Regions from separate parts of the Homo sapiens genome. Here regions 2, 3 and 4 are each linked to region 1. Evidence: promoter capture Hi-C in 16 types of primary human blood cells and fetal thymus (Javierre and others, 2016). All regions are on one chromosome and are shown on one strand. The core of a region is centred on a gene start or on the middle of the fragment in contact, and the rest is flanking DNA. Distances in the headings are between cores, read along the strand shown. Region 1 holds the start of UBE2A (ubiquitin conjugating enzyme E2 A). Region 2 has its middle 24 kb from the start of RPL39. Region 3 overlaps LOC107985694 (a long non-coding RNA gene). Region 4 has its middle 25 kb from the start of SOWAHD.

Region 1 (7,784 bases), core at 2,494-4,993:
CATAACCTTTGTATTTAGCATGTATACCAAGATATTCTGATGAGGAAGCATTTCTCCCCAATGTTTTGGTAGTGTAAGCTCTTGAGAATATATTCCTCTTACTTCGAGTGTGTGAAGTTAAACCAAAATACCCTTAAGTGTTGCTTGTCTTAAGATTTCATCACTCTAACTAGGACCTGGTTGTTCCAGAAACTTCCATAACGAACGGTTTACAACAAAGAAGCAAAAGTAGTTTTGGGGTTCTTAATTAATAACATAATACATTGGAAACAGCAAAATCAACTATGCCACTTATCCCTAATCAGTCTTTTCTCTAACTGTAAATTCCCCAACTATAAATAAAGGGTATTCAAAAAATGGTTAAGGCTGGGCACGGCTGCTCATGCCTGTAATCATAGCACTTTGGGAGGCCGAGGTGGGCGGATCACCTCAGGTCAGGAGTTCGAGACCAGCCTGCCCAACATAGTGAAACCCCCTCTTTACTAAAAAATACAAAAATTAGCTGGGCATGGTGGTAGGTGCCTGCAATCCCAGCTACTTGGGAGGCTGAGGCAGAAGAATTGCTTGAACCTGGGAGGCAGAGGCTGCAGTGAGCTGAGCTCGTGCCACTGCACTCCAGCCTGGGTGACAAGAGCAAAACTCCATCTCAAAAAAAAAAAAAAAAAAAAAAGCTAAAATTTTTTTTGTGGGGGAACCACAGGCCACAGTGTTCCAGACACCTGAGGAAGCATCCATCGGTAGCAGACTGTTCAACAGAACAAATCAGCCTGAGTAATTCCTTTCAGTAATGCTAGGATGGAGATACACATCATCAAAAATAGAACCAGTAATGTCAAAGGTGACAGTCCTGGTAGATAATGGACTCTGTAAGTACCTTTTCAATTCATACCACTTAAGAGAAGCACCCTTGAAATATTTAGGTAGCCAATCCCCAGCAAAGTGATGTACTATTAATAAAGCTGTGCCCAGCATAAAACAGAGTAAAACGAGGAAAAAAGAAGCCAATGAAAACAAGGCCTACTAGAGCTAAAGCAAACACAGTTAATCTGTACATTTAAAGCTCAGGTATAAAGAACTAGTGCTCGCCGGGTGCGGTGGCTCAAGCCTGTAGTCCCAGCACTTTGGGAGGCCAAGGCGGGTGGATCCCAAGGTCAGGAGTTTGAGACCAGCCTGGCCAACATGGTGAAACCCCGTCTCTACTAAAGATACAAAAAATTAGCCGGGCGCGGTGTCGCACACCTGTAATCCCAGCTACTCAGGAGGCTGAGGCAGGAGAATCGCTTGAACCTGGGAGGCGGAGGTTGCAGTGAGCCGAGATCACACCATCGCACTCCAGCCTGGGTGACAGGGCGCAACTCCGTCTCAAAAAAACAAAAACAAAAAACAAACAAACAAAAAAACTAGTGCCAATCTGGTAGAAGAAAATTAAGTCTAGCTATAGTTTTTTGCTACAAATCAGTTCAAATGATTAACTGCGCCAAAGTAGTATGCCCTTACAATCACTGTTTCCTGCTGTCATTTCTTTTCTTTGCAGCCCTGAAGAGTAATGATATTTACCCAGGGGGTAAAGGTAAAGAGGAAGCTAAAAATATTCAGGTGACTGTCCACAGTTTCCTGGGGAAATCTAAGTACTTGAGATGAATTACAGACTTAGTTGAAATTGACTTACCTCACAACATTTTGTGGACTGGTAGCATCAAAAAGCAATCCGGCTCAGCAACATAAGTATGTATTAAGTAGTTTGCAGAAATGTTTTTGTTCCCACCTTCAAACTGAAGTGTGTGTGTGTGTGTGTGTGTGTATAAATGCTATGTGACCGAAGGAAATCATTGAGGAAAAAAATAACAGAAAGATCCTTTTCCTTTTTTTTAAAACCTCAAATATTAAAGAATTTCATGAGTTCAAATACTTTAATCATCCTTTAAATGTATTAAACTTTCAAAAAACAACCACACACACACACAACTGAGTGTAGAACTATCAGTGTCATTTTTCCGGTTGTGATAGGGTCTAGTCATTCAAGATGTTACCAAATGGGAGGGTTTGGGTAGAGGACTGGGTTAAGGGTATAAAGGGTGTCTCTATTATTTCTTGCAACTGCATATGAATCTATAATTATCTAAAATCAGAAAGTTTTTAAAAAGCAATTTACACGTGTTTTTAAAAGTTAAACCTAAATCAATTAAAAATTATGTACCTACTGGTACATGTAGTACTTTCAGGTAGGCAGGACACTGATCAAAAGGGTACATTAAGGCTAACTTCAATTGTGAAGCTGCTTTGAAATTACTCATCATAACGTCTTGATGAAAGCACACACTGCAAATTCACTTAAAAATAAGAAAGAATACTGTACTCAAATGAGGCATTTAAGACCATCTTAGAGCAGTGAGGCTGACAGGCATTCAATGTCAGATTGTAGAAACCAGACAGTTGTACGCAAGGGATTCTCGCATCCACTCAACATCCAACACACATCTACCAAGCACCTGCTGAACACAACTCCTGCCCTTGGGGTAGAATTCTGAACCAGATGGTCTCTGGGGTCTCTGCTGCCTATCAGCAACTGGTTGGGTTTATACTAATTCAGTGATGGAGGGCTGAATTTAGCAGAATTACAGCCCAAGCCTCAAAAATCCTTAATACCAGTGCTATGATTGCTCCTTTTAAAAAGTGACTGCCTTACACAGATTTTTTTTTTAAGAAAGCAAGAAGAAAGGTGCAGTTCTAGTCAAGCATACAATATCCAGAACCACCAGCCACACACTGCATTCCACTCAAGCCTTTAGCAGACAGAGGCTAGGCAGAGGCAGGTTCCTAAGCAGGAGACACTTCCAGGATGACTGGGAACCCTTTCCCCAGATGACCAGGCTCCTGAAAAGTGGGTAAAGAAACTCTCTCTTACCATCCTCAAACGGGGTCCCTTCAGGCCTGCAACACAGAGAAAAATGGTCAGTTCCCACTTAAGGGGCCCCCTTCTCCCTGCTTCATCTGAGATGGCTATCCCGAGCTCTGCCATCTCCAGCACCGCTACCGGGGTCGGAAGCCACTACAAATGGATGTCCCGGGCTCAGAGACACAGGGCAAGCCGCCGCGCCTAACCGCCACCACTCCCCGCCCCGCCCCCCTAGAACCCCAAGCGGTTCCCCCTGGCAGCGGGAACTGAGCTAATCGAGGCACAGGCTCCGGGGAGGCGCCTAGGCCCAGCCAGACCCAAACATTTTCCCCTACCCGCTCGGCCTCCGCGGGGGGCCCGCCCCGGAGCGCAGACCGAAGCTGCTCGCGTCCCCAGTTTTCTCGCCACCGCCACGAACGCAGACTCACCCGAAAATGACCGCGTTCCACACCATTATGTTGTTCTCGGACGGAGCCCCGCTGACTCCGGCTGGAGGATCCTCCTGCAACCTTCGGGAAGACAGACAGGGGTCCCCCTAGGCCGGCACTGGCGCCCGCTCCCGGCCGCTCCCCAGCCCTCCCCGCCCGGCGCGCCTCGGGACCCGCCCTGTGCCCCAGCTCGCAACCCCCGGCCTCGGCCGTCCCCTCGGTTTACCTCTTGAAGTCCCGCATGAGGCGCCGCCGAGCCGGGGTGGACATGTCGCGAGCGGGGTCAGGGGTGGGGCATACACTGGGGTCTCGGGTTCCCGCGGCGGGCGAGGAGGCCGAAGAGGCTGGAGAAGCAGGAGAAGGGGAGGCGGAAGCACCCAGAGGAACCGCGCTGCCTCTCCGAAGTCGAGGGTCGGTCTGGCGCCGGCTAAGCACCACCCCAGTGTAGACGGGGGCTGAACCAACCTGAGAGCAGAGAGAGGGGGGTGGAACGTCGAGCGCCGGACAGGCCGTACCAAGACGGGGCGGGGGGTGCGCGAGGAAAGTTGCTTATGTCATTAAAGCCCCACGGGAGGCCCGGGGCGGGGCCGCGAGCGCAGAGGCGTAGGGTACGCCGGAGCCCCGGGCGCTGGAGGAGCTCGTGGTGGAACGGGGTCCATCCCCACCTGCTAATTCTAAGGCAAACCCTGGGAAGTTTTCGGCTTTTTTTCTTTTTCTCTTTTTTTCTTTTTCTATTCGTTTTTGTTTGTTTTGTGACCAGATCATTCATGAAAGCGCGCACTATGCCCGGGGAGGAGAGGGGAGAAGTTTGGAAGTCCCAAACTAGAGGACGAAGGAGTGGGCGGAGGTAAAACCGGTTCTCAAAAAGCGGCAACTCTAGGGTGCACAACCCCTTCGGACACCGGAGACTGGGGTCGGAGGGGTGGGGAGAGGAGTGATTGGTTAAAATCACGGAAAATCAAAAGAATAAATCGGCCTTGACTATGACGGGGGGGCGGGGCGGGGCTGTGGGATTGAATGCAGGATTGGGCGCTCAACGTTTAGGCCAATGATCACCCCAGGGCAGAATGAAATAGTGTTGTATGTCCTGTGGGAGGGAATGGGAGCTTAAGGCAGGCGGAGTAGGGTTTTGTTTTGTTCTGTTTTGTTTTGGGCACTCACAATTTGGCTCTGGAACCACATTTCCCCTTGGTAGTTCAACAAGCCAAGCGGCTATTTATGTTCAGAAGAGTCCAAGATATGAGACTATCCGACTGCAGGGAGTTGCAAGGACAGTGGGTCTGAAGTAAAAGGAACGTGGAAAAGCTGCAGGTTGCAGGAAGAGTCACAGTCCGTGGACCTGCAAAAGCAATAACAGTTTTAAAGGATAATTTTTAAAGGTCAACCCAAAATAACTTAGAAGATAGGCATAATACACATTTAAAAATTATTGAAAATAGGAGAAAGGTAGATTTGGGTTAAGTCATCAAGAGTTTTGAATGCCAAGCTAATGGATTCCTTGGAAGTCCATTGAGCAGGGAAGTGACATCATTAGAGCTGTCCTTATCAGAGATTGGTCTCAAGAGAGCAGGCAGGAGACTCTTGCAGTATCTAGGTGCGAGATACTGAAGCAGGCAGTGACAATAAAGGCGAGGATATGAATGAATGGGGAGGACTTGGCAACAGGCTGAATATGGGGCAAGAGAGAGGAAGGAGTCAACAGTGGCTGAAACTCTAAGCCCCGAGATAACTGGGGTTTTGAAGGTGCCATTAACAGAATTACAGAATAGAGAGAGAGGGACAAGTTTGGAAAAGGAAATTTTGGGTGGGACTTACTGAGTTCATGGGACTGGTGAGACATCCCCGTGAAGATGTCCAGAAGATATCAGATGTGCAGGAATTTGTTTCTAACATGAGAAGCAGGAGGCACTTGACAATGGTAGTGATTCTAGCTGCTGCTTAACAACAGGTACTTTCATGGTCAAGGATTTCTATCTCCCATTAACTCCAACATATCAGTTAAGGCAAGTCTCCCTAATAGCATCACATTATGGCTGTAGTAGGAAGGGGGTACAAAAATTAAAAAAAAAAAACTTTTTTTCCTCTCATCTAAGAACTTGCAGTCTACTAACACACACATACACACATATGAAATCAACAAAAGCAAGATCTACAAAAGCAAGTATATTCGTTTTCATCACTGCTTAACAAATTACAAGTTGTTGGCCAAGCCCAGTTCATTGCAGTTGTAGGACTTTGGTCCCTATTTCCTTACTAGCTGCCACCTGGGAACTACTCTCAGCTCCTAGAGGCCGCCTGCATTCCTTGCCAAGTGGCCTACTCCATCTTCAAAGTCATCAACAGAGAATTTCTCTCCCACCACATCCCTCTCACTCTTTGAATCTTGTTTTCAGGAAGAGCACAGTCTACTTTAAAGGCTTATCAGATTATGTCAGGCCCACCCCATGGATAATTTCCCTATGTTAAAAACATCTAAGTTGGGACCTTTATTATGTCTGCTAAATTTTTTCACTGCAGAACCTAGATTAGTATTTCATTTAATAACTGGGAGAAAGTGTGTGTATATACCAAGGACCAAGAATCTCAGGGGAGGGTAGCATCTTAGAAGTCTGCCTACGACAGCAACAGCAGAACCAGAACGGTTTCAGATTTCCTTTTTTTTTTTTTTTTTTTTTCAGATTTTGGAATTATTTGCATTATAAAAGTTTCAGGTTTTGGAGCATTTCGGATTTTAGATTTTCAGATTTGAGATCCTCAACTTGTAGAAGTGTGTGAAACCACAGATGCTGAGAGATTGCACAGCAGAGGAATCGTCATTCTGGTGGGATCAGGACAAGCTTCCTGAAATGGGTGTATTTCAATTTTGTTTCAACAGAGATGAAAGCGGAGCTTGAGAGAGAAGAACTTAAGCAGTTTATATGGGGGCAATGGCACAGACAAGGGCATGGAGCTAAACCCGTGGGCAGATGAGCTTGGCTAATGGACAGGTTCTTGGCTGGGGAATGATGAGACCTCAGCTAGGAAAAGTGAGGGTGACAGAAGTTGATTAAATGCCCTCAAATGCGAGAATGGGGAATTTAGGCAGCTTTTATAGGTGTTTGAGCATGAGAGAGATGTATTGAAAATATCCTGGCCGGGCGCGGTGTCTCACACCTGTAATCCCAGCACTTTGGGAGGCCAAGGCAGGTGGATCACGAGGTCAGGAGATCAAGACCATCCTGGCTAACATGGTGAAACCCCGTCTCCACTAAAAATACAAAAAATTCTCCGGGCGTGGTGGTGGGCGCCTGTAGTCCCAGCTACTCTGGAGGCTGAGGCAGGAGAATGGCGTGAGCCCGGGAGGTGGAGCTTGCAGTGAGCAGAGATCGCGCCACTGCACTCCAGCCTGGGCGACAGAGCAAGACTCCATCTCAAAAAAAAAAAAGAAAAAAAAGAAAAAAAAGAAAATATCCTTTTGAGGCCAGGCATGGTGGCTCACGCCTATAATCCCAGCACTTGGGAGGCCGAGGCAGGTAGATCACCTGAGGTCAGGAGTTCAAGACTAACCTGGCCAACATGAGGTAACCCCATCTCTACTAAAAATACAAAAAAATTAGCTGGGCGTGGTGGTGAGGACCTGTAGTTCGAGCTACTCGGGAGGCTGAGACAGAAGAATCGCTGGAACCCAGGAGGCGGAGGTTGCAGTGAGCGGAGGTCATGCCACTACACTCCAGCCTGGGCGACACGACCAGACAAAAAAAAAAGAGAAAGAAAAAGAAAATACCCTATTAAGAAGCGGCATGTACCGTACTAAAAAGTATGAAAGGGACTGAGAAGCTCCTGCTACTGGATATACATGTCTGAAATTTATTGAAGGATATAGATGTATGTAAGTTTGTTGTGAGCTTGTCTGTTTTTTGAAACCCCCTTTCTCTTCCTTTCTTGGACTTTCTTCCTTTCAAGAAAACTAAGGGCTGGGCTCAGTGGCTCAAGCCTGCAATCCCAGCACTTGGGGAGGCCAAGTGGATCACCTGAGGTCAGGAGTTTGAGACCAGCCTGACCAACATGGAGAAACCCCGTCTCTACTAAAAATACAAAATTAACCGGGCATGGTGGTGCATGCCTATAATCCCAGCTATTCCAGAGGCTGAAGCAGGAGAATTGCTTGAACCCGGGAGGCGGAGGTTACAGGGAGCTGAGATCGCACCATTGCACTCCAGCCTGGGCAACAAGAGCGAAACTCCGTCTCAGAAAACAAAACACAAACAAACAAACAAAAAAACTCAGGAGCATGACCCAAATGGTTGGAAGCCCCCTGGCACCTGCATGGGAGTAGCATTCTCTGACTAAGGAATGAAACTGCATTGCAGGAACACCGTGCCCCCACATTCCTCAGCAGAAGCAGGGTTGTCATAGCAAGCAGCAATACAGAAGATTGTTTTCCAGCATGATGATTATCAGGCTAGAACATACTAACTTTA
Region 2 (7,784 bases), core at 1,453-3,952, 240 kb before region 1:
ACAAAAATTAGCCAGGCACAGTGGCGGGCTCCTGTAATCCCAGTTAGTCGGGAGGCTGAGGCTAGAGAATCGTTTGAACCCAAGAGGCGGAGATTGCAGTGAGCCAAGGTCGTGCCACTGCACTCCTGCCTGGGCGACAGAGCCAGACTCCATCTCAAAAAAAAAAAAAAAAAAAAGGAAAAATAGAAAAGAAAAGTTTGTGGAAAATAGAAATAAAAGAAAAAAATATAAACTTCTCATCGTAAGATCCACCAAGGTCAAGACACTTTCATAAGCAATGATAACTAGCCATTTATGTATGTATGTATGTCTCTTGCTCACAACAATTACATACTAGTCATTTCATCCATCCCCTAAGAAGTGGAGGTCCTTGGAATTTAACCACATCAATGAAATCTTTTTTACATTATTAACTGAAGAGAAATGGTTGCCCTTTACAGACTTTTTAAAATTAGGAAACAAAAAAGTGACAGAAGAAGCTAAATCCCGACTGTAAGGTGGATGCCTAATGGTTTCCCATTGAAACTCTCAAAATTGCCCTTGTTTGATGAGAGGCACGAGCAGAAGCATTACCGTGGTAGAAAAGGACTCTCTGGTGAAGCTTTCCTGGGCATTTTGCTGCTAAAGCTTTGGCCTTCTCAAAACACTCTTATAATAAGCAGGTGTTGGCCGGGCACGGTGGCTCATGCCTGTAATCCCAGCACTCTGGGAGGCCGAGATGGGAGGATCACGAGGTCAGCAGTTCGAGACAAGCCTGACCAACATGGTGAAACCTCGTTTCTACTAAAAATACAAAAATTAGCCAGGCGTGGTGGTGCGTGCCTGTAATCCCAGCTACTCAGGAGGCTGAGGCAGGAGAACAGCTTGAACCTGGGAGGCAGAGGTTGCAGTGAGCCGAGATTGCACCACTGCAGTCCAGCCTGGGTGACAGAGTGAGATTTGGTCTCAAAAAAAAAAAAAAAAAAGCTGGTGTTACTATTCTTCGGCCCTCCAGAAAGTCAATAAGGAGAGTTGCTCAAGCAGCTCAAAAAACTATTGCCATGACCTTTGCTCTTGGCCAGTCCAGTTTTGCTTTGACTGGATCTCTTCCACCTCTTCAGAGTCATTGCTTTGATATTGCTTTGTCTTCAGAGTCATACTGGGAAAGCCACGTATCACCTCCCGTTACACTTTCCCAATAGATGCTTCATGATCTATTGGTTGGTGCCAACGTAATTGCGGCTTTTGACATTCCATGGCATAAACCACAATTAATATGCAGCAACGTAATAGATCTCACTTGTTTAAAATTTCCGTTGAAATCTCTGTTCTTGTCTGCAGCTGATCTGGTTTTGGCACCCATCAAGTGGAAAGTTTGCTCAACTTTTAATTTTTCAGTCAGAATTGTGTAAGCTGAACCAATTGTGATGTCTATGGTGATGGCTGTTGTTTCTGCCATTAATAGTTGGTCTTAGTCTCTCACGAAGGCTGGAGGCCAGTGGCACAATCTTGGCTCACTGCAACCTCTGCCTCCCGGGTTCAATGATTCTCCTGCCTCAGCCTCCCAAGTAGTTGGAATTACAGACACCTGCCACCGCACCCAGTTAATTTTTGTATTTTTATTAGAGACAGGGTTTCACCACGTGGGCCAGGTTGGTCAGATGACCCGCCCGCCTTGGCCTCCCAGAGTGCTGGAATTACAGGGGTGAGCCACCACACCCAGCCGATGCTTTTCAGTTAAAGCACGAAGAGGATTTTTGTTGTTGTTGTTTTTTAAGACGGAGTCTCATTCTGTTGCCCAGGTTGGAGTGCAGTGGCATGATCTCAGCTCACCACAACCTCCGCCTCCTGGGTTCAAGCGATTCTCCTGCCTCGGCCTCCTGAGTAGCTGGGACCACAGGCTCATGCCACCATACCCAACTAATTTTTGTATTTTTAGTAGAGACGGGGTTTCACTATGTTGGCCAGGCTGGTCTTGAACCCCTGACCTTGTGATCCACCCGCCTCGGCCTCCCAAAGTGCTGGGATTACAGGTGTGAGCCACTGCGCCTGGCCTAATTTTTTCCCTTGCATATTGATGTGGATGACCTGCTGCTGCAGGCTTCATCTTCAACATCATTTTGTCCTTTCTTACAAGTTATCCATTTGTAAACTGCTGATCTCTTTAGGGGCATTGTCCCCATAAACTTTTGGTAAAGCATCAGTGATTTTACCGTTCTTCCACCCAAGCTTCATCTTAAATTTTATGTTTGTTCTTCCTTCAATTTTAGCAGAATCCATTTTTCGCTGATAGGAGCTCTTTTCACACTGATGCTTTCTCCTTTTTAATGCCTCAAACTAGATCCTGTCGAGATATTTTTTAACGAGTTAGTACCAGTTTATTTTGATGCCAAAAGATTTTGCAATCCATGCATAGTTTCTTGATAATACACATTTTCCATGGACTTTTTGAAGACTTCTCATATGACTGTTGATATGATTGAGCTCTGTTCCCGCACCCAAATCTCATCTTAAACTGTAATCCTCATGTGTCAAGGGAGGAGCTTGGTAGGAGGTGATTGGATTATTGGGGCAGTCTCACACATGCTGATCTTGTGATAGTGAGTAAGCCTCACAAGATCTGATGGTTTTAAACAAGGCAGTTTTTCCTATGCTCGCACTTCACCTCTAGTCTGCTGCCATGTAGCATGTGTCCACTTCCCCTTCTGCCATGATTGTAAGTTTCCTGAGGCTCCCCCAGCCATGTGGAACTGTGAGTCAATTAAACCTCTTCGGCTGGGCTTGGTGGCTCACCCCTGTAATCCCAGCTTTGGGATACCAAGGCCGGTGGATCACCTGAGGTCAGGAGTTCCAGACCAGCCAGGCAAACATGGCGAAACCCATCTCTACTAAAAATACAAAAATTAGCTGGGTGTGCTTATGCCCGCCTGTAATTCTAGCTACTCAGGAGGCTGAGGCAGGAGAAGCGCCTAAACCTGAAGGGCAGAAGTGTGGTCAGCCGAGATCGCACCATTGCACTCCAGCCTGGGCGACAAGAGCGAGACTACGTCACATATTTTATTTATTTTATAAATAAATAAAAATAAAATAAAATAATTAAACCTCTTCTCTTTATATATTACCCAGCCTTGGGTATTTTTTCTACTAGTGTGAAAACCAATTAATATAGCTGTGAAAGAAATGGAGATACATAGGTTAATGGTGTTAATGAAGCTTTATTTTAAATATGAGAAAGTAAGTAAGTTTAGAAGCCAAAAGGTAAGCTCTACAAGGATGAATACTCAAGAGAAAGAGACAACGAATACTGTAGGCTTCCTGCAAAGGCAGGTGAAAATGGAAGCCAAGGTAGAGGTTAGAGGAGTTGGCCTTAGGAGAAGCAACACTCCTGAACCCCCAGGCATGAGTTGACATCCTTGCCTCTTTGTCTAGCCTGTTTTCATGTCAGCACCTCCCTCTTCTGTTCTACTTGCCTGGCCTGTCCAGCTCTGGATAAATCACCCATCCCCACCCCACCCTCTTCAATTTCTTCCATTTGCTCATTCATTTAGCAAACATGTACCAATCACTGACTGTGTGCCAGGCCCTGGGGTCAGGGATTCAAATAAGTCCTTGTGCACGTGGAACTCATGTTTCAGTGTTGGCAAGAGGCAAATAGCAATAATCAGATCATGATGCACAATGTCAGAAGGGTCGCGGTAGCACAGGGTGTTGTGGGAGCCTCTTGCCCCTAAGCTGCAAGTGTCGCTGGAGAAAATCCCTCAAGCAGATCAATTGGTGAAACCACAGGAGAGCCTTCACTCCTGCTAAGCAATTTTTACCATCAGTCTTGAATTGATATCCTTTCCCCAGTGCCACCTTTCTTCTACTTTGCTCCCTTGCTCTCCTTTCTTGTGTTGCAGGCAAGGGGGGTGAGGACCACTTCCTCATAAAGCATAATTTCATGTCCTTAATAACTATAGGCCAGGCATGGTGGCTCATGCCTGTAATCCCAGCACTTTGGGAGGCCGAGGCAGGTGGATCACTTGAGGTCAGCAGTTGGAGATGAACCTGGCCTACGTGGTGAAACCCCGTCTCTACTAAAAATACAAAAATTAGCCGGGCTTGGTGGTGTGCACCTGTAGTCCCAGCTACTCAGCAGACTAAGGCAGGAGAATCGCTTGAACCCGGGAGGCAGAGGTTACAGTGAGCCGAGATTGCACTACTGCACTCCAACCTGGACAACCAGAGCGAAACTTCGTCTATGCAGGCAATCCTAGCATTTGGGAGGCCAAGGTGGCAGAATCATTTAACTTCAGGAGTTCAAAGCCAGCCCGGATAACATAGGGAGACCCCATCTCTATTAAAAATTTTAAAACTTAGCCCAGTGTGGTAGAGCGTGCCTGCAATTCCAGCTACTAGGAAGCTGAGGTGGGAGGATGGCTGGAGTCTGGAATGTCAAGGCTGTTGTGAGCTGCAATCTTGCCATTTGCACTTCAGCCTGAGTGACAAAATGAGACCATGTCTCTAAGAAAAATAAGTTGTACCAGGCTTATAAAATAATAATTAGGAAATGGTTGCTTTTCTTTGGAAATGGAGAGAGGAAGTGGGCAAGTTGTCATTTACCATGCCTTCACATTTTTGGTCTTAAATGACTGGACTTTAGTATATATTAATATATAAGTTATGACTTGAAAATCCCACGTAAAAGCTTAGCAGCATTGTTGTAACAGTAACATATTTCATTGTACTTCAGAATCATCCAGGGATGCAGCGTTACCATCCAGGAGCTCGAAGCCAAGGTCGACTCTCGCACCCTGATGACATAACCAAGTCTGGAGATTCAGCAGTAGAAAGAAAGCAGGAAAGTTGTATTAGCCATACAAAAGAAGAGGAGAGGCTGGGTGTGATGGTTCACGCCTGTAATCCCAGCACCTTGGGAGGCCGAGGCGGGTGGATTACCTGAGGTCAGGAGTTTGAGACCAGCCTGGTCAACATGGTGAAACCCCATCTCTACTGAAAATACAAGAACTAGCCAGGCGTGGTGCCAGGTGCCTGTAGTCCCAGGTACTCGGGAGGCTGAGGCAGGAGAATCGCTTGAACTCAGGAGGCGGAGGTTGCAGTAAGCCGTGATCTTGCCACTGCACTCCAGCCTGGGCAACAGAGTAAGACTCCATCTCAAAAAAAAAAAAAAAAAAAAAAAAGAAAGAAAGAAAAGAGTAGAGGAGTGTGCAGCAGAGGAGTAAGTTTTGCCTCAAAGCAGGAATCTGATCAGAGGTTCAGAATTGGAAGTACAATTTCATTGCTTTTGCAATTTCTATAAATTAAAGTGTCAGAAAAAGATGATGGCAAGGACATGCATTGCAATTTGCAGGGGGAAATGTCAAGTGAGGACTTCATCACATATGACATGAGAGAAAAGTAAGAGCTGGTTCTAAAATCAAAAGCTTTTGTTCATCCCAAATTGAGTTTCTAAATTTTGGTGGAGCAGAGTCGCTTTGAAGTCTTGTTCTGATCTATTTCTACTGAATTGTTGATGATAACTGTTGACTTTGGGTAGTATAGAAGCAACAAGCATGTCCTTGTAGTACAAGTACAGGGAAGAATAGAACAAACTTTCATTGATGCAAACATTTAAATAGTCATGTTACTTCCGTATCCAATATCCTCAAGTTTTAGGATTAGTTTTAGTTTTTTATTTGCTTATCTAAGCTTGGCATGAAGAATATTTTTAAACATCTTGTTTTGTCTCCAGCATTTTTTTTATTAAGAGGTAAAATGTAGTCCTTGTTGGATTCTTGACAATCTAGTTTGTTTGATCTTAGGTCTCATGATCTGAGTGCCTACCCTCTCCAGGAAGGAAACTGCACCGATGTCTATTCCTGTTAAATAGCAACTTTTAGTCTCAGCTTGTTTTGTTTTGATGTCAATAAATAGTAACAGCATTCAAGTATGAAGTTAAGTGTAGTGAGTAACTTTAGCAAACAGCTGTGAATTTTGAGAAATTAATTTTTTGATACTGAATTAACCTCTTTGGAGTTTGGAAAGCAGATGAATGATATTAGTTTCTGCCTTCGCTAGCATGCCTTTGTTTTGTCCACCAGAGAACGATCAGTTCATGGTTCACTCCTGTATTAGACCATTCTTGCACTGCTAAAAAGAAACACCTGAGACTGGGTAATTGATAAGAAAAGAAGTTTGGCCAGGCACGGTGGCTCATGCCTGTAATCCCAGCACTTTGTGAGGCTGAGGTGGGATGACCACTTGATGTCAGGAGTTTGAGACCAGCCTGGCCAACATGGTGAAACCCTGTCTCTACTAAAAATACAAAAAAATTAACCGGGCATGGTGGCACGCTCCTGTAATCCAAGCTACTCGGGAGGCCGAGGCAGGAGAATCGCTTGAACCCAGGAGGCAGAAGTTGCAGTGAGCCAAGATAGCACCACTGCACTCCAGCCTGGGTGACAGAGCGAGACTCCATCTCAAAAAAAAAAAAAAAGAAAAGAAAAAAATAAAAGAGGTTTAATTGGCTTATAGTTCTGCAGGCTGTACAAGTCGGGAATCTCACATTGCTCAGCTTCTGGGAGGCCTCAGGGAGCTTTTACTCATAGCGGAAGGTAAAGCAGGAGCAGCCATCTCACATCACAGAGTGAGCAAGAGAGTGAGTGCGGGGAGGAGGTGCCACACTTTACAACAACCAGCTCTGTAAGAACTCACTATGGAGAGGACAGCACCAAGCCATGAGGGATCCGCCCCATAACCCCAACACCCCACCAGGACCCACCTACAACACTGGGGATTATATTTCCATGAGATTTGGGTGGGGACAAATATCCAAACTACATCCACTATTCTTGTCCCATAAGAACAAAATGTTAGACAACATCCTTGAGCTTTTGCCTGATTTTCATTCATTCTGCCAGCCCTTCCTGACGTGGCATCAGTTCGCCTTTACTTTCTTAATCACCACTTTATGTTTTCCCAGCTTTTAGAAACAAATAGCCAAAGAGGCAGGTACAAGAGCCACCAATAATGACTGAAAGTAAATGATTGTCAACTGGGCAAGAGTACTAAAGGAAGGGAAAATTTCTAGAAGGAGATTGGCTGACAATGTCCCGTGCCACAGAGAGGCTAAGGAAGACAAGAAATGGAAGTGTTCACTGGATTTGGCAGTCGTGATTTCATTAGTGAACTAATGAAACTGATGACCTAAAAGAGACAGAAACCATGTTACAGTGAGGGGTGAATGGCAGGTGGGAAATGGATGTATGTTTGGAATTCATCTCTTTTTAGGTGGTCATTGAAGTCATGGCCATTGATTCTGTTACTTAAGAGGGAGAGTGAAGTAAGAACAGAAGCAGACCTAGGGCCCAACCTCGAAAAACTAACATTACATAGAGGTAAAGAAATGTATCTACAAAAACAGAGAAGGACTAGCCAGAGAGTAGGAGAAAAACCAGAAGACTCTGGGTTACTTAATCTAAGAGAAAAGTGTTTCAAGGAAGAGGAGTGGCCAGCAGGGTTGGATGCCGCTGAATGGTCAATTATGATGCCTGACAAAAGCCATGGCATTCAGTGACTTGCAAATCACTGATGCCCTAGAATTATGGGGCAGGGAAGCCAGATTGGGTTGAGAATGGAAAAGATATATACAACTTTTTAGGGAAGTACGAGGGATCTTCAAAAGTTTCTGGACCCTTAGTTCTACTCTGAGGCCTCCTTCACATTCTCCTGAACATATAAATATGTAATTATCAGAAAGAATCATGGCTTGCAATTAGTTCCTAGGTGGATTTTTTTCTTTTTTTTTTAAGACAGAGTCTTGCTCT
Region 3 (7,784 bases), core at 2,471-4,970, 220 kb before region 1:
ACATGCCTGTAATCCCAGCTACTTGGGAGGCTGAGGTAGGAGAATCACTAGAACCCAGGAGGCGGAGGTTGCAGTGAGCTGAGTTCATGCCACTGCACTCCAGCCTGGGTGACAGAGACTCTATCTCAAAAATAAATAAAATAAAATAAAATAGTGGCCGGTGCGGTGGCTGACACCTGTAATCCCAGCACTCTGGGAGGCCGAGGTGGGCAGATCACCTGAGGTCAGGAGTTCAAGACCAGCGTGGCCAACATGGTGAAACCCTGCCTCTACTAAAAATACAAAAATTAGCTGGGTGTGGTGGTGCATGCCTGTAATCCCAGCTACTTGGGAGGTTGGGGCAGGAGAATCGCTTGAACTCGGGAGGCCGAGGTTGCAGTGAGCTGAGATCACGCCATTGCACTCCAGCCTGACAGAGCAAGACTCTGTCTCAAAAATAAAATAAAATAAAAAAACGGTGATTTTCATATTACGTGAATTGTATCTCACTTAAAGAATGGGAGAGAAGTTGGAAACAGTGAATGAAGACAAATCTTTACCAGGGTTTTGTTGTAAAGGGAAGGAGAAGAAGAAGTAGCTGGCAAGGGAGTTGGAGTAAAAAGCAGCTTTTTTAAGATGACAGCATATTTATTTGTATGTTGATGGGAATAATGCAGTGAACAGCAAGGACAGAAAGGGAAGACTAGTCAGAGCAGGGTTGTTGAATGGGCGAGAGAGGTTTGGATCTAGGGCACAAGCGAGCAGACAGGCCGGACATAGTTCAAACGTTTCATTCACAGTAACAGAGGGATGGGGGAATAGTCACGTGGAGGTGTTGGCAGATAGCATGTGTGGATGGGCTGTGGGAGTTCTCTTGTGATTGCTTAAATTTTCTCAGTGACTAGGAAGCCAGGTCCTCAACTGAGTGTGAGAATGGAGGAAGAAGGGTTGCAGGTTTGAGGAGGGAGAGGAGAGTCTTGACATAATTATCTAGGCCTAGGCTCAGCAAATTACAGCCTATGGACCAAACCTGGCCACTGCGTGTTTTTGTACAGCCTGAGAGCTAAGAATGGTTTCTGTATTTTTGAATGGTTGAAAAAAATCAAAAGAATATTTTGGGACACATGACAATTCTATTGAATTTAAATTTTAGTATCTGTAACTAAAGTTTTCTTGGAACCCAGCCACACCGTTCATTTACATATTGTCCTGCAGCTTTCATCCTGCAACAGCAGAGTTGAGTAGTCGCAACAGACACTGTATGTCATCTGCAAAGCCTAAAATATTTACTATCAGAAAAAGTTTGCTGACCAGGCGTGGTGGCTCATGCCTGTAATCCCAGCACTTTGGGAGGCTGAGGCGGGCAGATCACCTGAGGTCAGGAGTTGGAGACCAGCCTGGCCAACATGGCGAAACCCCGTCTCTACTAAAAATACAAAAATTAGCGGGCATGGTGGTAGGTGTCTGTAATCCCAGCTACTCCAGAGGCTGAGGCAGGAGAACTGCTTGAACCTGGGAGGCGGAGGTTACAGTGAGCCGAGATCGTGCCACTGCACTCCAGCCTAGGCGACAAGAGCGAGACTCTGTTTCAAAAAAAAAAAAGCATAATTTTAACAACCGCCCCCACGAGCCTTCTTGTTTCCACTATTGTCCCCATCCCCATCTACTCTCCAGCTGGCCAAAGGATCTTTTTAAAATACTTACATAATTGGCCAGGCACGGTGGCTTATGCCTGTAATCCCAGCACTTTGGGAGGCCGAGGTGAGATCGCTTGAAGTCAGGAGTTCGAGATCAGCCTGGACAATGTGGTGAGACCCCGTCTCTACCAAAATACAAAAAATTGGGTTGGCAGCACGCACCTGTAGTCCCAGCTACTTAGGGGCCTGAGGTTGGAGGATGGCTTGAGCCGGGGAAGTGGGGGTTGCAGGGAGCTGAGAATATACCACTGCACTCCAGCCGGGGTGATAGAGCAAGACCCTGCCTCCAAAAACAACAACATCAACAACAACAAATATATAATTGCCACTTACTCTTACCCTTTAAAAGCTTTCAAGGCTCCCAATTGCCTTCAGCAGTAATTTTGAAAATCCACCCTCAAACAAGAAGGGTCGGGCCAAACAATGAAGATGTAAACTGCCCTGTGGAGTCTGTTCTTTGATGTTGTCTCTTTGATGTATTAGCGTTTGTTCATTCATTCACCAAATATTTACTGCGCATCTACTATGTGTCAGGCACTGTTCCAGGCTCAGGGAATACAGCAGTGAACAAAATACACAATCCATGACCTCATGGAGCTTACATTCTAGGCAGGGAGTCAAACAATAAATAAAATATATGTTATCTCAGGTAAGTAATATGGAGAAAAATAAAGCAGTAGTAGGGGTAGGGAGTGCTGAGTGGGGGCCAGGGGTTGCAAATTTTTTTTAGAGAGAGTCTCACTCTGTCACCCAGGCTGGAGTGCAGTGGCTCAATCACTGCTGACTGTAGCCTCGAACTCCCCAGGCTCAGGTGAGCCTCCCACCTCAGCTTCCTGAGTAGCTGGGACTACAGGCATGTGCCACCACACCCAGCTAATCTTTGCATTTTTCTTGTAGAGGCGGAGGTCTCACCATGTTGCCCAGGATGGTCTCAAACTTCTGGGCTCAAGCCCAGAATGCTGGGCCTTGACCTCCCAAAATGCTGGGATTATAGGTGTGAGCCACTGCGCCCGACCTGGGGTTTGCAATTTTACTTTATTTTATTTTATTTTACTTTATTTTATTTTTGAGACAGAGTGTCCCTCTGTCTCCCAGGCTGGAGTGGAGTGGCATGATCTCAGCTCACTGTAACCTCCACCTCCCGAGTCCCGGTTCAAGCAATTCTCCTGTCTAAGCCTCCTGAGTAGCTGGGATTACAGGCACACACTATCATGCCCAGCTAATTTTTTGTATTTTCAGTAGAGATGGGGTTTCACCATGTTGGCCAGGCTGGTCTCGAACTCCTGACCTCATGATCTGCCCGCCTCAGCCTCCCAAAGTGCTGGGATTACAGGCGTGAGCCATCGCGCCCGGCCGAGCTGCAATTTTAGATAGATAGAGTGGTTAGGGAAAGCCTCACTGAGGTGACATTGGAAAAAAGACCTAAGGAGACTGATGAAGGAAGCCATGAAGGCGTGGGGACATCTAGGGGAAGAGCTTCCAGGTAGCGAGAAGAGCAAGTGCAAAGGCCCTGAGCTGAGAACTGCCCAGTATGGCCAAAGCCCAGTGAACTGATGGTGAGAGCAGTGGGAGATAAGGTCACAGAGGTGAGGTGGAAGGGGCTGATGTGGAAGCGTATGCCTGTTGTGAGAACTTGAATCTTTAATTTTTTTCTTCTTTTTATATTTTTTTTGGAGATAGAGTCTTGCTCTGTTACTCAGGCTGGAGTACAGTGGTGTGATCTCATCTTACTGCAGCCTTGACCTTCCGGGCTCAAGCAATCCTCCCACCTCAGCCTCCTGAATAGCTGAGACCACAGGTGTGTGCCCCGACATCCGGCTAATTTTTTAACGTTTCGTAGCGACAGGGTCTCCCTATGTCGCCCAGGCTGGGGCACTTAGATATTTACTGGAGTGAAATGAGCCATTAAGAACCACTAAATAGGCCAGGCACAGTGGCTCATGCCTGCAATCCCAGCACTTTGGGAGGCAGAAGGGGGCAGATCCCTTGAGCTCAGGAGTTCAAGACCAACATGGCCAACATACACCCCCATCTCTATTAAAAACACAAAAATTAGCCGGGTGTGGTGGCATGTGCCTGTAGTCCCAGCCATTTGAGAGGCTGAGGCACAGGAATCACTTGAACTCAGGAGGTGGAGGTTGCAGTGACCTGAGATCATGCCACTGCGCTCCAGCCTGGGTGACAGAGCAAGACTTAGTCTCAAAAAAATGAAAAATAAAAAGGAGCCACTAAATACAGTGACATGATCAGGCTTAGGTTTTAACAGGGTCATTGACTGCTGTGTTGAGAAGAAACTGTAGAGGGGCAGGGCCAGAAGAAGGGGGAAGAGTTTGAAGGATTTTGCAGTAATCCAAGTGAGAGATGAACGACGGTGGGGGAAATGAGCACTGAATTCGAGAAACATTTTTGAGACAGCTGACAGGATTTGCTGAGACTGGATTAAGGGTGTAACAGAGAAGAGTCAATGGTGAGTTTCTATATAAAATGGCTTTTAAAACAAAGAGCCATTCTGTTAAAGAAGTCTGCAAACTACATCGGGCGTGGTGGCTCACGCCTGTAATCCCAGCACTTTGGGAGGCTGAGGCGGGTGGATCACTTGAGGTCAGGAGTTTGAGACCAGACTGGCCAACATGGTGAAACCCATCTCTACTAAAAATACAAAAATTAGCTGGGGATGGTAGCATGTGTCTGTAATCCCAGCCACTTGGGAGGCTGAGGCAGGAGAATTGCTTGAACCAGGGAGGTGGAGGTTGCAGTGAGTGGAGATAATACCATTGCACTCCAGCCTAGGCGACAGAGCGAGACTCTGTCTCAAAAAAATAAAAATAAAAGAAAGAAAAAAAAAGAAGTCTGCAAATTGTTGGTCCCCAGGATAAAGCTCAGACTCCTAGGCTGGCTCTGGGAGGCCCTGGATACCTGTTCTTAGCATCTACACCTTTGCAGATATAATCGTCTCTCAGTATCCATGAAGGATTGGTTCCAGGATCTCTTTAATACCAAAACCCACTGATGTCCAAGTCCTTTATATAAAATTATGTAATATTTGCATATAACCTACACACATCCTCCTGTATACTTTAAGTCATCTCTTGTTTACTTATAATACCTAATGTAGTGTAAATGCTATGTAAATAATTATTATACTGTATTGTTTTTCATTTGTATTTATTTTTAGAGATAGGGTCTCACTACATTGCCCAGGCTGGACTTGAACTCCTGGGATCAAGCAATCTGCCTACCGCAGCCTCCCAAGTAGCTAGGACTACAGGTGCATGCTGCCACACCTGTCTATATTTGTATTATTTTTTATTGCTGCATTATTTTTTTCCAACTTTTTTTTTTTTTTTGAGACAGGGTCTCACTCTGTTGCCCAGGCTGAAGTGCAATGGTGCGATCTCGGCTCACTGAAACTTCCACCTCCTAGGTTCAAGCAATTCTCCTGCCTCAGCCTCCTGAATAGCTGTGATTGCAGGTGTGCCACCATTCCCGGCTAATTTTTGTATTTTTAGTAGAGACAGGGTTCTGCCATGTTGGCCAGGCTGGTCTCGAACTCCTGATCTAAGTTGATCCACCCGCCTCAGCCTCCCAAAGTGCTGGGATTACAGGTGGGAGCCACCACGCCCGGCCATTTTTCCAAATATACATTTTTTAACTTGGATTTTTTGGATTTTTATTGCTCATTTATTTAAGAGCAAGCATTTTCTTTCTGGTGACCAGAAGCAGCAGCAAATAAGCTTTTAAGTGCTTATGTCAATTATCCTTTTAATTCTTACTGCTTTTAGAAAGAGCACTTCTTGCTGGTTTTCCTTCTACCTTTCATGCCACCCTTTCTCAATTTTTTTTTTTTTTTTTTTGAGACGGAGTCTCCCTCTGTCACCAGGCTGAAGTACAGTGGCATGATCTCCACTCACTGCAACCTCCACCTCCCGGGTTCAAGCGATTCTCCTGCCTCAGCCTCCCGAGTAGCTGGGATTACAGGCGCCACCACCACACCCGGCTAATTTTTTGTATTTTTAGTAGAGACGAGATTTCACCATGTTGGTCAGGCTGGTCTCGAACTCCTGACCTCGTGATCCACCCGCCTCGGCCTCCCAAAGTGCTGGGATTATAGGCGTGAGCCACCGCGCCCAGCCCTCAATTTTTTGTTTGTTTTGAGACAGGGTCTCACTCTGTTGCTCAGGCTGGAGTGCAGTGGCACAATCATGGCTCACTGCAGCCTCGAACTCCTGGGCTCAAGCGCTCCTCCCTTCTCGCCTTCCAAGTAGCTGGAGCTACGGGCACGTGCCACCACATCCAGTGGCTAAATTTTGTATTTTTTGTAGAGAGTCTCACTATGTTGTCCAGGCTGATCTAAAACTCCTGGTCTCAACTATTCCTCCTTCCCCAGCCTTCCAAAATGCTGGGATTACAGGTGTTAGCCACTGCACCTGGCCCCTGCTTTGCTTTTCTTGATGACACCTCCTTCTGATGTGCCATGTAATTTACATATTTGTTGTCTAACTCCCCACTATAATTAAACTCAATGAAGGCAGAGTTTTTTTAGACTTGTATTTTGAAATAACAATAGATTCGCAAGAAGTTGCAAAGAAAGGGACTGAGAGGCCCTGTGTACCCTTTATCTAGTTTTCCCCAGTGTTAGCATCTTGCATAACTATAGTACAATATCACAACCAGGAAATTCACGTTGGCACAGTCCACAGAGCTTATTCAGATTTCACCAGTTATACATATGCCCCTTGGGGCAGGGGTGGGCAGGGGGGAGTTGTATAGAATTGTTTTTTTTGTTTTTTTGTTTTTGTTTTTTGAGACAGAGTCTCACTCTGTCACCCAGGCTGGGGTGCAGTGTTGTGATCTCGGCTCACTGCACCCTCCACCTCCTGGGTTCAAGCAATTCTCTCTGTCTCAGCCTCCTGAGTAGCTTGGACTACAGGCACGCACCAGCATGCCCGGCTAATTTTTTTTGTTTGTTTTGAGACAGAGTCTCGCTCTGTCACCCAGGCTGGAGTGCAGTGGCGCGATCTCGGCTCACTGCAGCCTCCACCTCCCGGGTTCAAGCCATTCTCCTGCCTCAGCCTCCTGAGTAGCTGGGATTACAGGCGCGCGCCACCACACTTGGCTAATTTTTGTATTTTTAGTAGGGACGGGGTTTCACCATGTTGGTCAGGTTGATCTCGAACTCCTGACCTCAGGTGATCCGCCCGCCTCAGCCTCCCAAAGTGCTGGGATTACAGACGTGAGTCACCACACTTGGCAAATTCTATCACACGTGTAGCTTTGTGTAATTCCCACCACAAAAAAATCCAGAACCATACCATCGCCACAAGACTCCAAGAGGGCAGGGATTTTTGGTCAGATTTGTTTGCTTCTGTACCCCCAACACGAAGACCCGAACCAGACAGAGTAGGTTCCCAAAATCTGTGTTGAAAAGGCAGTAGAGGGTAGTGGTGACAGCACAGACTCTGAAGCCTGGACTACCTGAGTCTGAGTACCGGCTGTGCAACATAGTAGCTGTGTGACCTTGGGTATACAACTTAATCTGTCCCTGTTGCAGTTCCCTCTTCTGTAAAATGAGGATGATTAACCATACTTACCTTGTAGTGTTCTGGTGAAGATTCAAAAGGTCACTGGTAAAACATGGTAAGCTCACAGTGAGGCTTGAATTAATACATGCAGCTACATAGTAACTATCAAGCCCCATAAGCAGCAGCCACTGTTACTTTCATCCTTTTGCATTGCAACAGAACAGATAGTGCTAGGAGCCATAAGAAAGGTACAAATAAACTATTACAACAGTGTTGAAGGGGTGATGATTTCCAGCTAAGGGGAAGAGACAGCATTTGAATTCGGCCTTAGAAGGTGACTGGTGGTGTCATGAGCTAAATTATGTTCCCCCAAAATTCATGTGTTGAAGCCCTAATCCCCAGGACCTCAGAATGTGACTTTAGGCCGGGCACGGTAGCGCACTCCAGTAATCCCAGCACTTTGGGAGGCCGAGGCGGGCGGATTACTTGAGGTCAGGAGTTCGAGACCGGCTTAGCCAACATGGCGAAACTCCGTCTCTACTAAAAATACAAAAATTAGCTGGGTGTGGTAGTGCGTGCCTGTAGT
Region 4 (7,784 bases), core at 1,591-4,090, 160 kb before region 1:
CTGGAGTGTAATGGTGCGATCTCGGCTCACCGCAACCTCCACCTCCCGGATTCAAGCGATTCTCCTCCCTCAGCCTCCCAAGTAGCCTAGTAGCTGGGATTACAGGCGCGTGCCACCACGCCCGGCTAATTTTTGTATTTTAGTAGAGACAGGGTTTCTCCATGTTGGTCAGGCTTGTCTTGAACTCCCAACCTCAGGTAATTTGCCCGCCTCGGCCTCCCAAAGTGCTGGGATTACAAGCATGAGCCACTGCGCCCTGCCATTTTTTTTTTTTTAAGATGGAGTATCACTCTGTCACCCAGGCTGGAGTGCAGTGGAGTGGCACAATCTTGGCTCACTACAGCCTCCACCAACCAGGTTCAAGGGATTCTCCCGCCTCAGCCTCCCGAGTAGCTGAGATTACAGGCACCCGCGACCACACCCAGTGAATTTTTATATTTTTAGTAGAGATGGGGTTTCACCATGTTGCCCAGGCTGGTCTTGAACTCCTGGCCTCAAGTGATCTGCCTGCCTCAGCCTCCCAAAGTGCTGGGATTACAGACGTGAGCCACTGCACCTGGCCCATTTCTTTCTTTTTTTTATTTTTTATTTTCTTGAGACAGAGTCTTGCTCTGTCACTCAGGCTGGAGTGCGGTGGTGCGATCTCAGCCCACTGCAAACTCCACCTCCTGGGGTCCGGCTAAGTTATGTATTTTTAGTAGAGATGGGGTTTCGCCATGTTGTCCAGGCTGCTCTTGAACTCCTGATCTCAAATGATCCGCCTGCCTCAGCCTCCCAAAGTGCTGGGATTACACTCGTGAGGCACCGCACCTGGCCTTCACTATTATTTATTTATTTGACACAGAGTCTTGCTCTGTCGCCAGGCTGGAATGCAATGGTGCAATATTGGCTCACTGCAACCTCTGCCTCCCGGGTTCAAGCGATTCCCCTGCCTCACTGAGCCTCCTGAGTGGCTGGGACTGCAGGACTGCGCCACCATGCTTGGCTAATTTTTTTTTTTTTTTTTTTTGTAAGTTAGTAGGGATGGGGTTTCACCATGTTGGCCAGGATGGTCTGGATCTCCTGACCTCGTGATCCGCCCATCTTAGCTGGGATTACAGGCGTGAGCCACCATGCCCGGCTGCCTTCACTATTACTAATATCATATTTTATTTCATGTAATGGTTATAATAGCCCTGCCAGGGAGAGTGAACAAAACAGGCTTTAAAGTTAGACAGACCTGGTTTGAATCTCAGCCTGAAGACTTAACTACGTGACTTATATAAGGCACTTTACTTCTTTGTACCTGAGCTTCCCCATCTATAAAGTGGAGGTCATGATAATGACACCTGCCCCCTCATCTGCCCCTGCCCAGCAGCTGCTCCTGGGATTCTAGTGTTTCTAGAGAAACTGTGGCTGCTGTCTCTCCCAGCGCTGTCGTCTTCTCTGGGCCAGAAGCACACACAGCCTGAGCTTGTTGGACCTCACGCCCCTGCTGTGCCCTCTGTGGGGCTCTCAGCTCCAAGTGGGTTCTGTCTAATAATTACATAATAAGGTGTAATCACATAATAATTACACTTTAGCTATCCTACGAATTAAGGCAGCTCTTCCAAAGACAGCACATCACACAATGCCCAGCATGTGCCAAGCTTCAGTTAATGAGAGCTGGGTTTGGTTTGTTTTGTTTTGTGATCTGACTGGGCTGTGACCTCCTTGGCTGGCTCTGGGTTCATCTGTCCCTCTCCCAGATGAGCAGTCTGCAGCCCTCCCCTTCAGCAAATGGGGCCGCGTAGCCTCCGCACTCCTCTTGGTTGCTGCCCAATGGGCTGTGACAGATGTCCTGCCAGGCAGCTGCTGGCCCTGCTCATCCTGTGGCCCTCTTTCTAGCATCTGGGCTCCTCAGCTCCTTGGGGGATGGGACTTCGGGGCTCCTGGTCTTGACTTTGGTGGCTAAACATAGAGTGCCAAGTCTATTTGTTCCCAAGTAGTTGAGATGGCACAAGCCTGGCCACCTTGCCCTGGACGCCCAGCTCCCGGTTGAGGAGAAGCCCCCTGCAGGAGTCACTATTATGCCTCCCTGGCCATTTCCAGGCCTGAAAGTGACATTTCTCTGCTCAGTTCACTGTCACTAAAGATGGGTTCATGTGCTGTTTTCTCCAGAGCCTGGTCTGCCCTCTCATCCATGCCTGTCACTCAGCCCAGCTTGTCACTTCCCTCCTTCAACAGAACCTCAAACTGCTACCATGATGCAGCCTGGGCACTCTTCCATCTGTCTGCCTTGCCTGCCCCTGCCCGGCAGCCGCTCCTAGGATTCCAGTGCTTCTCGGGAAGCTGTGGCTGCTGTCTCTCCCAGTGCCGTTGTATTCTCTGGGGCAGAAGCACACACAGCCTGAGTTTGTTGGACCTCATGCCCCTGCTGTGCCCTCTGTGGGGCTCTCGGCTCCAAGTGGGTTCACTCTATGAGCCTGGCCGGCTGCCAGCTGGCTGGCTTTGCAGCCGACTCTGGTGAGGAAGTCCTGCCAAGGGCTGGCCTGGATCACTGTTGCTAGAGGAGCAGCCACCTCCCCACCACCACCCCACATAGAAACATTGGGTTCCACATTTGTAAGCGGACATGCCCAAGAATTTGCTACCCCCACTCGTTGTGCGTCAAAAGCTGGCTAAAGGCTGGGTGAGGTGGCTCACACCTGTGATCCCAGCACTTTTGGAGGCCAAGGCAAGCAGATCACTTGAGGCCAAAAGTTCCAGCCTGGCCAACATAGTGAAACCCCGTCTCTACTAAAAATACAACAATTAGCTGGGCGTGATGCTGTGTGTCTGTAATCCCAGCTACTAGGGAGGCTGAGGAACGAGAATTGCTTGAACCCGGGAGGTGGAGGTTGCAGTGAGCTGAGGTTATGCCACTGCACTCCTGCCTGGGCTAGAGTGAGACTTCGTCTAAAAAAAAAAAAAAAAAAAAAAGCTGGCTAAAATGGGCAGCCACGAAGAGGGGTAAAGATCTTATTGTGATCGGAGTTCTAGGTCTGCTGGTCACTGGCTGTGTGACCTTGAGTGATTACTTAACCTCTCTGAACCTCCATTTTGTCATCTGAAAAATGGACATGAAAGGAATTACTTTATTACCTCATAGGCCTTTTGGAAGGATCAAATGAGAACTTGGATGTGAACACTTTTTTTTTTTGAAACGGAGTCTCGCTCTGTCACCCAGGCTAGAGTGCAGTGGCGCTATCTTGGCTCACTGCAAGCTCTGCCTCCCGGGTTCACGCCATTCTCCTGCTTCAGCCTTAACGAGTAGCTGGGACTACAGGCGCCCGCTACCACGCCCGGCTAATTGTTTTGTACTTTCAGTAGAGACGGGGTTTCACCGTGTTAGCCAGGATGGTCTGGATCTCCTGACCTCGTGATCCGCCTGTCTAGGCCTCCCAAAGTGCTGGGATTACCACTGCGCCCGGCCTTTTTTTTTTTTTTTTAAGACGTGGTCTCGCTCTGTCACCCAGGCTGGAGTGCAGTGGCACGGGTGCGATCTCGGCTTACTGCAAGATCCACCTCCCCAGTTCATGCCATTCTCCTGCCTCAGCCTCCTGAGTAGCTGGGACTACAGGCGCCCGCCACTACGCCCGGCTAATTTTTTTTGTATTTTTAGTAGAGACGGGGTTTCACCGTGTTAGCCAGGATGGTCTCGATCTCCCGACTTCGTGATCTGCCCACCTTGGCCTCCCAAAGGGCTGGGATTACAGGCGTGAGCCACTGCATCCGGCCTCTTTTTTTTTTTCTTTTTTGCGACAGAGTCTTTCTCTCACCCAGGCTGGGGTGCAATGGCAGGATCTCGGCTCACTGCAACCTCCGCCTCCCAGCTTCAAGCGATTCTCCTGCCTCAGCGTCCTGAAGAGCTGGGATTACAGGCATGCGCTGTCACGCCCAGCTAATTTTTGTATTTTTAGTAAAGACAGGGTTTCACCATATTGGCCAGACTGGCCTCGAACTCTTGACCTCAAGTGATCCACCCGCCTTGGCCTCTCAAAGTGCTGGGATTATAGGCGTGAGCCACCACACCCGGCCTCCTTTCAAGCTTCTGATGGCTGCAAGCAATCCTTCATGCTCCTTGGCTTGTAGATGCATCACTCCAATCTCTGCCTTTGTCTTTTTTTTTTTTTCGAGACAAAGTCTCACTCTGTCGCCCAGACTGGAGCGCAGTGGCGCGATCTCAGTTCACTGCAACCTTCGCCTCCAGGGTTCAAGTGATTCTCCTGTCTCAGCCCCCCGAGTAGCTGTGATTACAGGCATGTGCCACCACGTCCAGCTAATTTTTTTTTTGTTTTGTTTTTGTTTTTTGTTTTTTGTTTTTGTTTTTGTTTTTGAGATGGATTCACCCAGGCTGTAGTGTAGTGGCACGATCTTGGCTCACTGCAAGCTCCACCTCCCGGGTTCACTTCATTCTCCTGCCTCAGCCTCCTGAGTAGCGGGGACTACAGGCACCCACCACCACGCCTGGCTAAGTTTTTGTATTTTTAGTAGAGACGGGGTTTCACCATGTTGGCCCGGCTGTTTTCGAACTCCTGACCTCAGATGATCCGCCCACCTCAGTCTCCCAAAGTGGTGGGAATACAGGTGTGAGCCACGGTGCCCGGCCTCTGCCTATGTCTTTATGTCACCTCTCTGTGTCTTTTCCCTTTCTTTTCCCTTATTAGGACACCTGTCATTGGATTTAGGGCTTGCCCTAATCCAATACAATCTCGTCATAACATTTTTACCTTAATTACATCTGCAAAGACCCCTTTTCCAAATAAGGTCACATTCTGGATGGATATATGTTTTGAGAGAGGTTCCATATTCAACTCACTGCAGAAAGGTATTAAGAATTTCAACAGGGCTGGGTACGGTGGCTCACTCCTGTAATCCCAGCACTTTGGGAGGCCGAGGCAGGTGGATCACAAGGTCAAGAGTTCAAGATCAGTCTGGCCAAGATGGTGAAACCCTGTCTCTACCAAAAATACAAAAATTAGCTGGGTCTGGTGGCACATGCCTGTAATCCCAGCTACTCAGGAGGCTGAGGCGGGAGAATCGCTTGAACCTGGGAGGCGGAGGTTGCAGTGAGCTGAGATTGCTCCACTGCACTCCGGCCTGGGCGACAGAGTGAGACTCTGTCTTAAAAAAAAAAAAATTCAACAGGGTCTCAGAAGTGCATTAGACCAATTGCAGGACCCTGCTAAGAGTGGGGCCCTGTCCCACTACACAGATCACATGCCCATGAAGCTAGAGTGTACCAAGGTCATCCATGCCCTCCCTTTATGCTGTCAAATCCAGCAGTTGGGTCTGAGTCCTCACCTTACTGGACCCTCTCAGCAGCATTGGACATTGTCGATCACCCCATCCTCCTTGCAACTCCTGCTTCCCTTGGCTTCTGGGACACCCAGCTCTCCTGGTTTTCCTTTGAGCTCCCTAGCCAGTCAGTCATTCCTCAGTGCCTTCCTTCTGCTGGTCCTGCTGGCTCCATCCTCTAGAGTCTGGAGATTGGGGAGCCATGGGGCTCGGACCTCGTCCACTTGTCTCTATGTACTCGCTCCCTTGAGAATCTCATCTCATCCAGGTCTTTCAATGACCCCTCTGCACAGACGCCTGCTGCTCCGATCCTTCCTCTGAATTCCAGACACACAGATCCAGCTGCTGTCCAGCAGCCTGCTGACAGCTCCCCTTGGAGCTCTAATAAGCTTCTCAAACTTAGCCCATCCATAGTGAAGTCTTCCTAGTTGCTTGGGTGAAAATCTGCCAGCCATCTAAATGCCTCTCTTTCCTCTCACATCTCAACACAGTCTCAGCAAACACTTCCTGCCCTTCTTAGAATGAGATCCCCACTCCTTGCCATGGCTCACAAGGTCCTCCATGAAAACATGACTGAGTCTTCTGCAATCTCACCTCCTCCCTCTCCTACCAACTTCATCCCCACCCCGACCTGCACTGAGGATGCTCCAGTCCTCCACCACCCCGCCTCTGGCTCCTTGATCACACCGAACACTCTCCCACCTCAGGGCCTTTGCACCTGTAGTTCCCTCTGCCTCGTGTGATCTTTCCCAGTTCACTCATGAAGCAGGCTCCCCCACTTCATTCAGTCCTGCTCCAATGTCACCTGCTCAGGGAAGGCCTCCCTGACCACCCTGTTGAAAATAACACCCTCTGGTCCCTCTCTGTTCCCATCCCCTGCTTTGTTTTTATCCAGAGGCATCTCGTACTTGCATTTGCTTCAAATCTACCTCCCTAGAAAGTAAGCTCCATAATTTTAGGGACTTGGTGTTTTTCACTACCGTCATTGTCACCACCCAGCACAGTATGTGACACATATGTGTTGAATCAGAGAATGAATGAATCTAAGCATGTTGCTCTCCTCGCTTAAAATCCCGAGATGCTCCATCACATCTCCGTGCTTTTGCCCATGCTGTTCCCTCTGCTCAGAATGTCCTTCCCCTTCCTAGCCTGCCTGGAAAACTTTTAGTCATCCCTCAAGACCAGAGCCCACTGTCGCCACCTTTGTGAAGCCCCTAGTTGCTGTAAGAGACACCTATATTTAGGCCGGGCACGGTGGCTCATGTCTGTAATCCCAGCACTTTGGGAGGCTGAGGTGGGCGGATCACCTGAGGTCGGGAGTTTGAGACCAGCCTGACGAACATGGAAAAACCCCGTCTCTACTAAAAGTACAAAATTAGCTGGGCATGGTGGCGCATGCCTGTAATCCCAGCTACTCAGGAGGCTGAGGCAGGAGAATCGCTTGAACCCAGGAGGTGGAGGTTGCAGTGAGCCAAGATCGCACCATTGCACTCCAGCCTGGGCAACAAGAGCAAAACTCCATCTCAAAAAAAAAAAAAAAAAAAAAAAAGAAAGAAAGAATAAAAAAGAGAGACACCTATATTTTCTCCTCTATATTAAAACAAAACAAAACAAAACAAAATTCAACTCCAATCATGTTTCCCTTGCCTCTCCCAGGCAACACCTCAACACCTTTTCTGGAGGGAAATTACTGTACCAGAAAAGATAGTTAATTTTAAAAAAAAGTTTTTTTTGAGACAGAGTCTCGCTGTGTTGCTAGGCTGGAGTGCAGTGGTGCAATCTCAGCTCACTGCACCCTCCACCTCCCGGGTTCAAGCAATTCTCCTGCCTCAGCCTCTCAAGTAGCTGGGACTACAGGTGCGTGCCACCACGCCCAGCTAATTTTTGTATTTTTATTAGAGACAGGGTTTCACTGTGTTGGCCAGGCTGGTCTCGAACTCCTGATCTCATGATCCGCCTGCCTCGGCCTCCCAAAGTACTGGGATTACAGGCGTGTGTCGCAGCACCGGGCCTTTTATTTATTTGTTTATTTTTTCAAATAACGGGGAACCTGGAGGCAGAAACTTGGTGAGTCACAAGGGGGCAGCAAAGTGTTCCCACTCGGAGGAAGGCTACAAAGCCTTTCATCATCAGCTAGCAGCAACAATCGGTTTAAACCATGTAGCAATAAAGGATTAGCCACTGGATTTAGTAACAACTGGTCATCACCCACTCCAGTGTCAGTATTTGAAAAAGAAATAGGATTGTAAAATCTCAGCTCAGCCATTTCGTATACGCCCTTGGGCCAATCGCAATCTATTTGACCCTGGTTTCCTCATCTGTAAACTAGGGATACCTGCTTCCGAATGTCACTTCCTCATATGGTTGTCTTGATAATTAACTAGGATGATGAAGGTAATAGATGAGCTGCCTGGAGTGTAGTAAGTGTTCATATGTAAAATACTATTATTACCATATAAAGAACCAAGGGAACTGAGTGTTGCTGA

Evidence for each region. Contacts are between HindIII fragments. The CHiCAGO score rates a contact against its expected background, and 5 or more counts as called.
Region 2: a contact is called between a fragment that was not itself captured here and the fragment with the promoter of UBE2A in region 1, in 4 of 17 cell types (activated CD4 T cells, total CD4 T cells, fetal thymus and 1 more). The highest score is 5.9, in activated CD4 T cells.
Region 3: a contact is called between a fragment that was not itself captured here and the fragment with the promoter of UBE2A in region 1, in 1 of 17 cell types (neutrophils). The highest score is 6.3, in neutrophils.
Region 4: a contact is called between a fragment that was not itself captured here and the fragment with the promoter of UBE2A in region 1, in 2 of 17 cell types (naive B cells and activated CD4 T cells). The highest score is 5.9, in naive B cells.

What each region holds. Positions count from the first base shown.
Region 1 is chrX:119,570,522-119,578,305 of GRCh38, reverse strand. It overlaps UBE2A (ubiquitin conjugating enzyme E2 A), which reads right to left and starts at 3,743. Exons shown (of 6, transcript NM_003336.4): 1 at 3,551-3,743; 2 at 3,325-3,405; 3 at 2,906-2,931. The coding sequence starts at 3,594. LOC124905208 (a long non-coding RNA gene) reads left to right here and starts at 3,811. Exons shown (of 2, transcript XR_007068307.1): 1 at 3,811-4,171; 2 at 6,003-7,784. RefSeq lists enhancers at 2,970-3,470, 3,471-3,971 and a silencer at 3,343-3,512. The HindIII fragment of the contact is 8,074 bases long and covers 1-6,163 here.
Region 2 is chrX:119,812,235-119,820,018 of GRCh38, reverse strand. It overlaps a transcript of UPF3B not described here. Among named protein-coding and RNA genes, the nearest start is that of RPL39, 24 kb to the right of the region's middle. The HindIII fragment of the contact is 984 bases long and covers 2,211-3,194 here.
Region 3 is chrX:119,793,220-119,801,003 of GRCh38, reverse strand. LOC107985694 (a long non-coding RNA gene) reads right to left here. Exons shown (of 3, transcript XR_001755949.2): 2 at 7,268-7,428. Among named protein-coding and RNA genes, the nearest start is that of RPL39, 5.5 kb to the right of the region's middle. The HindIII fragment of the contact is 3,385 bases long and covers 2,028-5,412 here.
Region 4 is chrX:119,729,701-119,737,484 of GRCh38, reverse strand. No RefSeq gene overlaps it. Among named protein-coding and RNA genes, the nearest start is that of SOWAHD, 25 kb to the left of the region's middle. The HindIII fragment of the contact is 2,420 bases long and covers 1,631-4,050 here.